4 separate regions of the Homo sapiens genome follow, and regions 1, 3 and 4 are each linked to region 2. Evidence: promoter capture Hi-C in 16 types of primary human blood cells and fetal thymus (Javierre and others, 2016). All regions are on one chromosome and are shown on one strand. Each heading gives the region's core, a stretch centred on a gene start or on the middle of the fragment in contact. The rest is flanking DNA. Distances are from core to core; before and after follow the strand shown.

Region 1 (2,700 bases), core at 36-2,535, 1.2 Mb before region 2:
TGTTCATCAATTATCGAGATTGGGGTGTTGAAGTCTCCAATTATTATTGTCTATATCTCTCTTTAGTTCTGTGATTTATTGCTCCATGTACTTGGGGAAATCTGAGGTATATATATAACTTTTCTATTTTCCTGTTGAATTAACCCCCTTATCATTATGAAATGTACTCTTTGTCTCAAGTATTTTATTTATTTTTGTCTCAAAGTGTATTTTGTCTAATATTAGTGTATTCACTGCAGGTCTTTAATGGTTACTGTTTGTATGATATATCATTTTCCATCCTTTTAACTTTCAGACTAAATTTTTGAATCTAAAGTCTGTCTCATGGCAACCTGTGGTGGCTCATGCCTATAATCCCAGCACTTTGGGAGGCCAAGGTGAGTGGATCACCTGAGGTCAGGAGCTCAAGACCAGCCTGGCCAACATGGTGAAACCCTGCCTCTATCAATAATACAAAAATGAGCCAGTATGGTGGTGGGCACCTGTAATCCCAGCTACTTAGGAGGATAAGGCAGGAGAATCACTTGAATCCAGGAGGTGGAGGTTGCTTGGAGCCAAGATCCCAACACTGTACTCCAGCCTGGCTGACAGAGTGAGACTCCAACTCAAAAAAAAAAAAAAAAAAAAAAAAAAAAAAAAAAAAAAAAAAAAAAAGGGAAAAGCAAAAGCTTGTCTCTTGTAGACAGAAGATAGTTGGATCTTGCTTTTCAAAATCCAGCCTGACAATCTCTGCCTTTTGGTTGGAGTATTTAATCTATTTACTCATAATGAAATTACATCTTAACCATCCCTAATCTGAAAATCCAAAACTGAAATTCCCCCAAATCCAAAACTTTTTGAGTGCTGACACGAAGTCACAAGTTGAAAATTCCACACCTGACCTCATATGATGGATCACAGTCAAAATGCAGATACACAACACACAGTTTACTTAATGTCTCCAAAGAGACCCTCCCAGCCCCCTTCAGCTGTGAAGTATCTTTTCCACACATGCCCCAGACTTCGTCATGCAGGCACATCCACAAAGGGTAATAAAATGGCACATGTCAGGCAAGACACACCAATGGCGGGTTGCCTGTGATGCCCTACATGAGGCCAAGACCTACATGCCTTACTCATTATGTTGTTTTGTTTTGCTTATTCTCTTCTCTGTGGTATAAAGGTATTGTGGAAAATGTAGAAAGATCTGCAGATACCCTTATGAGTAACAGTAGTAAAGAAAAGAGGAAGCATTTATACTTATCTATAGCACAGAAAGTCAAGCTGTTGAAGAAACTGGATGGTGGTATAAGTGGAAAATGTCTTATAGAAGAGTATAGTGTTGGAGTGACCACCATGTATGACCTGAAGAAAGAGAAGGATACATTGTTGGAAGTTCTATGCTGAAAGTGATGAACAGAAGTTAATGAAAAATAGAAAAGCAATGCATGGAGTGAAATATGAAGTCCTTGAATATGTATTGAAAGAATGGAACCATCAGTGTCACAGTGAATACATGCCACTTAATGGTATGCTGAACATGAAACTTGCAAAGATCTATCACGATGAACTGAAAATTGAAGGGAACTGTGAACATTCAACAGGCTAGTTGCATAAATTTAAGAAAAAGCACAGCGTTAAGGTTTTGAAGATTTGTACCATTTCCTGATCATGAAGCAAGGGAGATATTCACTGATGAGGTTACTAAGGTCATCACTGATGAAAATCTGATACCAGGACAGGTCTGTAATGCTGATGAAACATCACTGTTTCGGCATTATTGCACCAGAAAAACACTGACTACAGCTGGTGAGACAGCTTCAATAGGAATTAAGGATGCTAAGGACAGAATAACTGTTCTGGGATGTGCTAATGCAGCACGCATGCATAAAGAAAACCTTGCTATGATAGACAAAAGCTTATATCCTTGTTGTTTTCAAGGAGTAAATTTCTTTCCAGTAAATTATTATGCTAACAAAAAGGCATAGAGAATTAGGGATATCTTTTCTGATTGGTTTCACAAACATTTGGTACTAGTGGCTCTTGCTTGCTGTAGGGAATCTAGACTGAATGATTAACGACTGCAAGATTTTGGCACTGCTTGATAAGGATTCTGCTCATCATCCAGCAGAAATTCTCATTAAAAATGTTTAGGTCATGTATTTTACCCTAATTGTGACTTCATTAATTCATCCATGTGACTAGGGTGTTCTTGGATCAATAAAGAATAAATATAAAAAGTTTCTTGATCAGCATGCTAGCAACAGTGAACAGAGGCATGAGTGTGGAAAGTTTTCAAAAGGAGTTTAGCACGAAGAATGCCCATGTTTGGAATACAGTGACAAATACACAGTTGTGCATGCCTGGCACAACCTCTGGGCTATAACTATGTTCAGTGATGGTGATGAACAAAGTGGTGACTTTGAAGGTTTCTATATGTCACATGAGAAAAAAAATAATGTCTGACCTCCATACATATACAAAAAAATACACCTTCAGAGTCTGGCAGTAAGATGGAAGAAACAGATGTCATGTAAGTTTTTACCAGCAATAATGCGGCTCTAATTATTCATTCATTGATCCATGGGGAAATAGCCAAAATGGTTCTTAATCAAGGTGATTATGATAATAGTGATGATGAAGATGATGTTAACACCGTAGAAAAAGTGCCTATAGATGACATGGTGAAAATGTGTGATGGGCTTATTGAAGGACTACAGC
Region 2 (2,726 bases), core at 1-2,500:
TGTGACGTACTGGGTTTTTAGCAAGCATTTTTTAGAAAACACTTTCTCGGTGTAATTTATAAAGTTATATAAAATTTGTCAATACCTGCTTTGTTGCAGCGTGTCTTAAAAATTTCAAAAAATGTTGGCCTCTCTTTGGATCCAATAGGCATTTTTACCTACGATATTCCTCCAATGCTTGGTAAATAAGTCTGCAAAACAGAAGACCAAAATGCACTTACACAGGGATGCATTCCTTATTATGTGACTGAGGTAAAACTCAGAAGCGCTGGAAAATTTGTTTGAATTCTAATTCAGTCCCATCTCCTGGAACGGTAACAGCTTACTGTGAGGATGGGAACATTTTACAGCTGTGCTGTCCAAACCGGTGCCACTAGCCACATTAAGCACTCGAAACGTGGCTAGTGCGACTAGAGAAGAGGATTTTCATACGATTTAGTTTCAATCACGCTAACCAGTGACGCGTGGCTAGTGGGGACAGAGGGCTCCAGTTAGAGACCAACGCCGCCTGGTAATTCCCATCAGCATGTCTTCGGAATACAGCAATTACCAGGGGCTTAAGTAAGGCAAATACAGCGTGCCCAGCAGCTGTAAAACACTTCCCCAAAACAGCAATATTCCGTTAAAGTGATCGTGTTTCCAAGAAATTTCAGATGGCGTCATCTGGGACAGCTGGGAGGGAAGTTAAGTCTTGAGCTGAAGGCGGAGCCCAAAGGCCGGGCCGGAGGCGGGAAATGGAGACCCAGGGAAGGGGCGGGGCTCGAATTTGCTTGGCGAAAATCTGCCTTCGGGCAAGGACCTTTCTCTCAGGCATGGGTGGGGGTTGGCAGAGACAAAAGGGCAAGAAGCCGCGGCAGCGACCCGGGGCGTGAGGCGCTCCCCCGCCACGCTGGACTGGGACTGCGGAAGACGCGCTCGTCCCAACCCACTACCACCACCACTAACCCGCTCCAGAGGTGCAGTTCTTTTTTGGCCGGAGTAAGCTGACAAAAACCGCGCCGGTCACAAATCTGTCCCCTCACGCTTCTCCCGGCGGCGACCCACCGCCGCAAAAGACACCCGAGGCGCAGCAGAGGCGCAGCAGTGCCACAGCGGCTCCGCCTCTGCCGCCTAGTTTCAGAAGCTCGCGCCACAAGCCCGCGCTGGCCACGTGACGCCGTGACGCGACACGCAGCACACGCACCACCCGGAAGTCAGGCCTGGGTGGGCCGCTGCGGGTATTTCTCAGTGTGGCGAAAGGAAATTCCTTGTCAGGCATCCCAACCGTCAGTATCTGACCGAATAAAGCGGGAGCTGGAGTGTGTGTTCTCTTCTCGCTGACCCTTAAGAGTCCCAGGCCACCCTGCTTGGAGGGGCCGCCCCTATGCCTACTCCAAGTCCCCCATCCCTTTCTTTTTGCTCCAGCTCATGTTTGGGTGGGCGCCCTCGGGACACGACCTGGGACCTATGAAATACCTTTGTTCTGACCTTAAAAGGGATGTTCTCTCAAGACCTGTTCCCCAAAGCGAGCCGATCTTACAAAAGCTTAGAGTGGTCGGTGTGTGGTTGTGGATGACTTCACTTAGTGGTAGTGGGCGGGGCTGTTATTTGAAATCAGAGGATTTTAGTTCCAGTAGCTGTTCTGCTATTGGGTAGCAGGTGTTCAAGACCTCCGAGCCCGTTTCCTTGCTTGAAAAATTGTGAAACCCATCTTAACTCGCTCATGAAGTGTGAGGTACCTTGCTCCGCAGGGCTTGGTAGTATCTTTTGCTTTTTTTTTTGAGACGGAGTTTCGCTCTTGTGGCCCGGGCTGGTGTGCAATGGCGCAATCTCCGCTCACCGCAACTTCCGCCTCCAGGGATCAAGTGGTTCTCCTGCCTCAGCCTCCCGAGTAGCTGGGAATACAGGCATGGGCCACCACGCACGGCTAACTTTGCATTTTTAAGTAGAGACGGGGTTTCTCCGTTGTTGGTCAGTCTGGTCTCAACCTCCCGACCTCAGGTGATCTGCCTGCCTCGGCCTCCCAAAGCGCTGGGATTACAGGCATGAGCCACCACACCCGGCCCATCTTTTGCATTCTTAGGATTCGGATCACCTGTCTTCCTCGCAGGCTGAACTGGAAGACCTGACTTCATCTCCGAATTCGTTGGTTCTGTAACATGCCTAATACAAGGCTGAATAGGGTTTGTTGTAAGACCTACAAAACCTTCAAATGGATTCAGTGAGAGTTGCTCCCATGGGGGCCTTGCTGCTTCCAGAAGGTGCTTGAGCAGTAAACAGAAGCAACCTTGGATTAGGAAAAGGGTGGGCTCCGCTTGGTTCCTTAGGGACCATTTTAGTTTGATAATCAGTAATCCTTAGTTGTAGAAGGAGGCCTTACTAATGCAGATAGATTCTAAAGCTTTTGCTCTAAGTCTAATTCGCAAAGAAATACGTCTGTGATCCTTACTAATAACAGCTGCCACTTACCAAACATTTTATGAGTTAGGCATTCTGCTTTGGGTTTTCAAGCAATACCATGTTTAATCTTACAGTAATCCTGTAAATTGGTCAGTATTGTCAGATGAGGATACTGAATCAAGTAGTTAAGTAATGTGCCTGGTAGTAAGGCCCAGGTTTGAATTCTAGTCCATTTGACTTCATACACTTAACTAACCTGTGATTTATTTACCCTATAAATCAGAACAATATGCTTTGTCCCCTTTTTGTGGGGGAGGGGTGTCTCACTAGGAGTGGACTAATGAGAA
Region 3 (2,700 bases), core at 139-2,638, 1.2 Mb before region 2:
ACTCAAAATAATATAATTTGTAAAGGCCTAGTATTTTATGGTAGGAGACTCTAGGACATAAAATAGACATTCTATTGATGAGAAATCTGAGAGTATAGAAAAAGTGAAAAGTACACCCAGCTAACAAAAAGAGTGATTTCAGGGTTGCTAGTAGGCTTTCCTTGCTTGCCCCAGAGCATTCCTATTGTGATACCATCACTCCACTTATCTCTACTTATTGATCAGTTGTCAGTTACTTTTGAAAAGTCCTAAGCACAACGTTCTGACCAGAATTCTGATGAACATAAAGTAAGTATAAGATATGTCCTTCATTTCTAGGAACTTTGAGAGTAATTGAAGAAAAGAGACACATTCATGTAATGGAAAACACCTTCTGATGATGTGTGCTGTGAGAGCAGAGAAGAGCATAATTAACACTCAGCATTTGTTAAGGGCTGAACATGTGCCTAGAGCTTTATATCCAGTCCTCACAGTCATGATCAGAGTGGCTGGGGAAGTCTCCATGGAAGAGGTGCTCAGGTGTTTGAAAGTTTTATTGACATCAAATACAAGGAAATTGTAAGCAAAGGCTTTGGTTTAAATTTGCATGTGATCTTACCATGTACTTCCTAGCCTTTTTCAGTTTATATAAGCATAAATCCACTTACTTACCAGATGTAATAATTTTATTGAATGGAAACAACTTGATAGGGTGAACAAAAAAAAAAGAGCTTTGTTTTTTCTTTCTGTTGTTCCTTCAAATATGTGCAAGGAATATTTCTTCTCTACTTTGAATGATTTATCAGGTGGGTGCCATAGTATTTCCAATCATTTTAAAATAAAACATCCTCTGGTTACCTTTTGGCACAAGAACAGTTTCATTTAAATATTCAGAACTTTCAGACCATTTATAATCACATAGCTTCATAATCTTACCTAATTTAAAGCTGCTTCCCACTGCTGAGACCTGCTATGGGCAGAAAGGCCTGTGGGGGTTGGCTTCTCTTTTGTTTTCATATCTTGCTCTATTGCTCCTCACCCAGTCTGCTACCTACAGTGTCTCATCCTCCAGGGTCTTACTAGGTAGAAAGGACTGGGGGAAAAGACCCAGGTTTACATGGTCACTACTCTGACAATCTGGAACTGGCATTCTTGGGGCTTTGATTGACACTAAAAGTACCTCTTTATGTTCCTCTGCCTGGAATCTCCAGTGACACAATTCTCGGATTGGCCTTTCTCCCACTGGCCACTTAGGACTTAAGCCAACATTTAGCCATGGGTGACTGATATGTTTGCCTCACCTGGGTTCTTTCTGTTGGGGTCCCATTGTCCCAGCCCCTTTGGAAAAATTTTGTGGCTGATTTCTTCACCTGGAAGGTGCCCATCTGGTCCACAAGAACCACTTGTACTTCCTTGACCCAGTTTTGTGTGGAAATACAGTAATCATCTTACAAGACCACTGCTACCCTTTGGATTCCTCATGTCGGAATCAGACACCAGGTATGAATCAGATTAGTTCATAATTACTTGAGATATAAATAAACAATTGCTCAGAAGTACAACTTTTTTATACCCAAATGACATAAATTTCTCTCCTGTTTTCATGAAAGGAATTTTGTACACACAGTATCCCAGGTATATTAATAGCATACAAGTAAAAGTCAAAGCATTACAACTTTGACAAAAATAAACAGAATGTTTTCAGACTTCAAGATAGAAAAATTTCTTACAAGCACAGCCATAAAGGAAGAAAACTAAATCCAGGGACCAGAAGAAATGCTAAAAATTATTATTCAAGAAAACTTTCCTGAAATAAAAAAGATTAGAAGTTACATATTGAGAGAGTTCTCCATACACCTAAAAAGATCAACCCAGAATTATAATATCAAGACACTCTACCACAATTACTGGGTTTTAATTTTTTAAAAATCCTTTGACTATTTAGAGGGGAAAAGAGCACATGATTTATAAGAGATCATAATTAGATAAACTTCAGTTTTTTTCATTAGCAATACATTAGGCTAAAAGAAAATAAGGTAACATAATTAAGATTCTCAAGGGAAAAAAGTATGTGCCAAGCACTTTGTGTCCAGAAAAACTTACTTTGTAGCAAAAAGGGCACAATGACTATGAGATCTTCCTGAAGAGCCTGCTAGAAAATGAGCTTCAGGTAACAGGTGAGCAGAACGACAGCCTATAGACTGTGCTGAGCTGCAATAGAGACTTCGTAGGAGAACTAAGACTAAATGAAGGCTAAGAGGAAGAGAAAATAGTATATAATCACTAAAAAGATGGGGACGGGGGGACAGCACATGCAAAACCTTTTACAGTGTTTTCAGTACTTCTGTTGGTGGTAGCATTAGGATTGTTATTTTGAGACTATTAAGTGTATAATATGAGATAAAAAACAAATGAGTAATTATGGAATATTATAATTCTGTCATAGTCTGTGTCCTTGAGAACCAAGATTCTCAGTTTGGAAGAAAAAAGATACAGATGTAATAGATTAGAGACTAAGTAAAAGTCCTGTAGTCTTACATTCAAACTGGAAGTATTGGATATGAACTCATGAGGTTTCTCTCTCTCACCACTCTCTTCTCTCCCTTTCTATCTCTATGTCTGTTGAAAACACCTAGAAACAATGACCAACACAGTGGTAATGACTGTCCCTATTGCTTGGATTGTGTTCTTGAAATAATTCCTTATTTAAAGAAACCAGGT
Region 4 (2,774 bases), core at 94-2,593, 1.4 Mb before region 2:
ATGTGTAGCTTGTAAGGCCTTAGCTCAATTTTCCAGATGATTTCAGAGACAAAGAATTGCTGATTTGTTACACTAATCTTGACATTTCAAATTACAACTGGAAATAATCTTCCTTAATTAGTCATGTTCTTTCTGTTGAAAATATCAGACATTTGACATATTTGTTTAGCAAATATGTCGATTTTCTGGTCTTTATGGTCTTTCAGTCCCATGTTGATATTCACATATTAAATTTTTAGCTTGCTCCACAGCAAAGATGCAAATATATATGTGCATATGTATATTATATATGTACACATATAGTATATGAATCTACAACCATGCTTGGGGAATACAAGGTATAATATGAATATTATATATATATTCATATATATCTATATATATTTATATATGTGAATCTACAACTATACTTGGGGAAAACAAAGACTTTATCCAGGCTCACCCAGAATGGTTATGAGAAAGTGAAACATTCTTTTCTTCCCTTAATAGGCAAATACATAGTTTAAAAGCTACCTCCCCAAATATGGGAGAATCTTTAGAGAAAGTGTTAAATCACAATAGCATTAAATGTACATTTACTATCAAGTCTTTTGCAATAAAAGCTGACATTAACTTTTTCTCTACAATATTTACTATAGCACTGTGCTTACCCAGGCTTTTATTAATATATGTTTATTTCTGCATTTCCATTTCTCAGCTACCTTTTATATTTTAAAAATTACAGAATTTATAGAAGAAAATTGTAGGCTGATAACAAACAAAAAGGTTTTTCGAAATGGCTAGCATTTGCTCCCAGCAGGGAAAGTAAAGGAATAGTTGCTGTATCCTGAGCCACCCATCCCGGCCCAAGTCTTTGTCCTGCTGAAGTGGTAAATTCTCCCAGAAACGCAACACAAGGTGGTGCTGTTGTATTTATCCTAAACCAGCTGCCAGCCTGGCCACTTAGGCTGTCGGTTTGATCTGAAAGTGGTAGGTGTGTACCAAAGGCATGGGTTTTGCATATGTAGATGTTTACAGTGTAGTCCTCCTTTCAGATAAGAAAAGATAAATAGAAGAAGGAGGAAGAGAGTAAGTTTCTCCACACATGGAAGCTTCTGGAGAAACTGTCTTAAAAAAAAAGAAAGTGCATGGGTTCCTTTTGTTACTAAATTATAGGAGCATGGAAAGTTAGGGCTAGAAGAGATAAAACATTATCTAGCCCATCTTCCTATCTTCAGAGAGGATTTCATTTATAAATTATCAGCCAGTTAAACTTTTTCTTTTGGTTTTAAAATTTTCCAGGGAGGGAGATGCCACTTGCTCCCCCAGCAAATCAATACTCCCTAGTGTTGGGAAATTGTTGTGGACATATGTGCACTTCCTCTTGTTCTGAATCCAGAGGGTATGGGAAGGATTTGATCAGCAGATGTGCCTAGTGAATGAGAAGCACACAAAAAAAAAATGAATTACAAGTCAGGGCTCTGGATTCCTCTCCCTCACTTGCTTAGCTGGGACAAGGTGGGCCTCAGATTTTGCATCTGGAAAACAAAGAGATTGGACTAACATCAGTGGGTTTCCACAAATGGCTGGATCTCAAAATCACCGGGGAAGCTTTTTAAAAAAATACAGATTCCAGGGCCTTGCCTATAAATTTGCTCAGTCAGAAAATCTAGGGCAGGGCCCAGAAATTGCACTTAAAAAAAAATCCAAAAGAACTGTTTTCCTTGGAAAACATTTTTCTTGTCTGAAGACATGGAAATTAGCTAAAAATGTGTAGGCAGGCAGCCCAGCACAGATCTAATGACTGGTGCATAGGTACCACTAGATTAAATAACTCTTAAATCCCATCTGATTTTATGATTTTCCAGGTATCCTTAAAACAAAAGCCCTTGAAAAATAGAAGTGAATTATCCCAGATCTAAAGAATTTCCTCTTGAATCATATTCCCAAGCCTTTGAGTAATCTGCAGTATGGATTTACAGCAAGATGTTTTCTAAATTTTTCAAGCACATGAAATTGGGAAGTCCAGGAATATTATTATAGTAAAGAAAATCCAATAAAGTCCTTGTGTTCAGTCCAATGCCTACACGCTATTCTATTTTCTGGTTACTGTAACTATGAATTAGTTGACAGTTATGAAAATAGTATTTGGACTCTTTCACTTTCATTTTTATAAAACTGGAAAGTTAAAAAACTAGTCAAGTACTTGGCCCATGTATAAATAGATAAGTCACATACTGGCAAATTGAGCTGTATAAAAGTTACTTACACAGACAAAAATGTCTCTAAAGTCTCTATGTAAAACGTTGGCTTTCTGACTCTGAGACTGTCTAGTATCAATGTGAAATTCAGTAACAATGCAATTCAGATTCTTATACCTCAAATGTCTCATTTGAAAGAATCAGATAATTGAAGTATCATTTGTTTATTCTCGTTTATAGTATCAAGGTAAATAATTCTGCCTTCCATTTCCCCTTGCTAATGTAATGTGACCTCAATGTTACATGTTACTAAGTAAATCAATTAGGAGATTTGGCCTGTGTATGTGACTCTTGCAAATGGGTAATTACACCATCAAATAGAAACTTATACACTCTTTGCAAGCCAGTCTTGAAGTCACTTCCAAATAGTTGGTTCTCATTATTTGTACTTTAAGAGCCATTTACAGGTCTAATTAAATTGTTTCTCAGGAATATAAAGATCAATGTTTCCAACCTCATGAATTGAATATATAAAAGAATGCATGAGGCCCAAATTAGCATTTCGTTTATTAAAATAAGTCAGTGTTGGAGCTG

Evidence for each region. The method cuts DNA at HindIII sites, captures the fragments that hold promoters and counts their contacts. A CHiCAGO score of 5 or more calls a contact.
Region 1: a fragment that was not itself captured here is called in contact with the fragment with the promoter of ZAR1L in region 2 in 4 of 17 cell types (total B cells, non-activated CD4 T cells, naive CD8 T cells and 1 more); the score reaches 9.3 in total B cells.
Region 3: a contact is called between a fragment that was not itself captured here and the fragment with the promoter of ZAR1L in region 2, in 7 of 17 cell types (naive CD8 T cells, total CD4 T cells, non-activated CD4 T cells and 4 more). The highest score is 12.9, in naive CD8 T cells.
Region 4: a fragment that was not itself captured here is called in contact with the fragment with the promoter of ZAR1L in region 2 in 1 of 17 cell types (non-activated CD4 T cells); the score reaches 5.3 in non-activated CD4 T cells.

Annotation. Positions count from the first base shown.
Region 1 is chr13:33,549,524-33,552,223 of GRCh38, reverse strand. It overlaps a transcript of STARD13 not described here. Among named protein-coding and RNA genes, the nearest start is that of LINC02344, 220 kb to the right of the region's middle. The HindIII fragment of the contact is 1,229 bases long and covers 671-1,899 here.
Region 2 is chr13:32,313,887-32,316,612 of GRCh38, reverse strand. ZAR1L (zygote arrest 1 like) reads left to right here and starts at 1,250. Exons shown (of 6, transcript NM_001136571.2): 1 at 1,250-1,298; 2 at 2,063-2,283. BRCA2 (BRCA2 DNA repair associated) reads right to left here and starts at 1,105. Exons shown (of 27, transcript NM_000059.4): 1 at 946-1,105; 2 at 86-191. The coding sequence starts at 152. RefSeq lists an enhancer at 446-715, a promoter at 824-1,320, a cis regulatory region at 1,649-1,715 and a silencer at 1,834-2,054. The HindIII fragment of the contact is 7,545 bases long and covers 1-1,526 here.
Region 3 is chr13:33,531,570-33,534,269 of GRCh38, reverse strand. It overlaps a transcript of STARD13 not described here. Among named protein-coding and RNA genes, the nearest start is that of LINC02344, 200 kb to the right of the region's middle. The HindIII fragment of the contact is 7,063 bases long and covers 1-2,700 here.
Region 4 is chr13:33,722,151-33,724,924 of GRCh38, reverse strand. No RefSeq gene overlaps it. Among named protein-coding and RNA genes, the nearest start is that of RFC3, 95 kb to the left of the region's middle. RefSeq lists a silencer at 811-980. The HindIII fragment of the contact is 499 bases long and covers 1,094-1,592 here.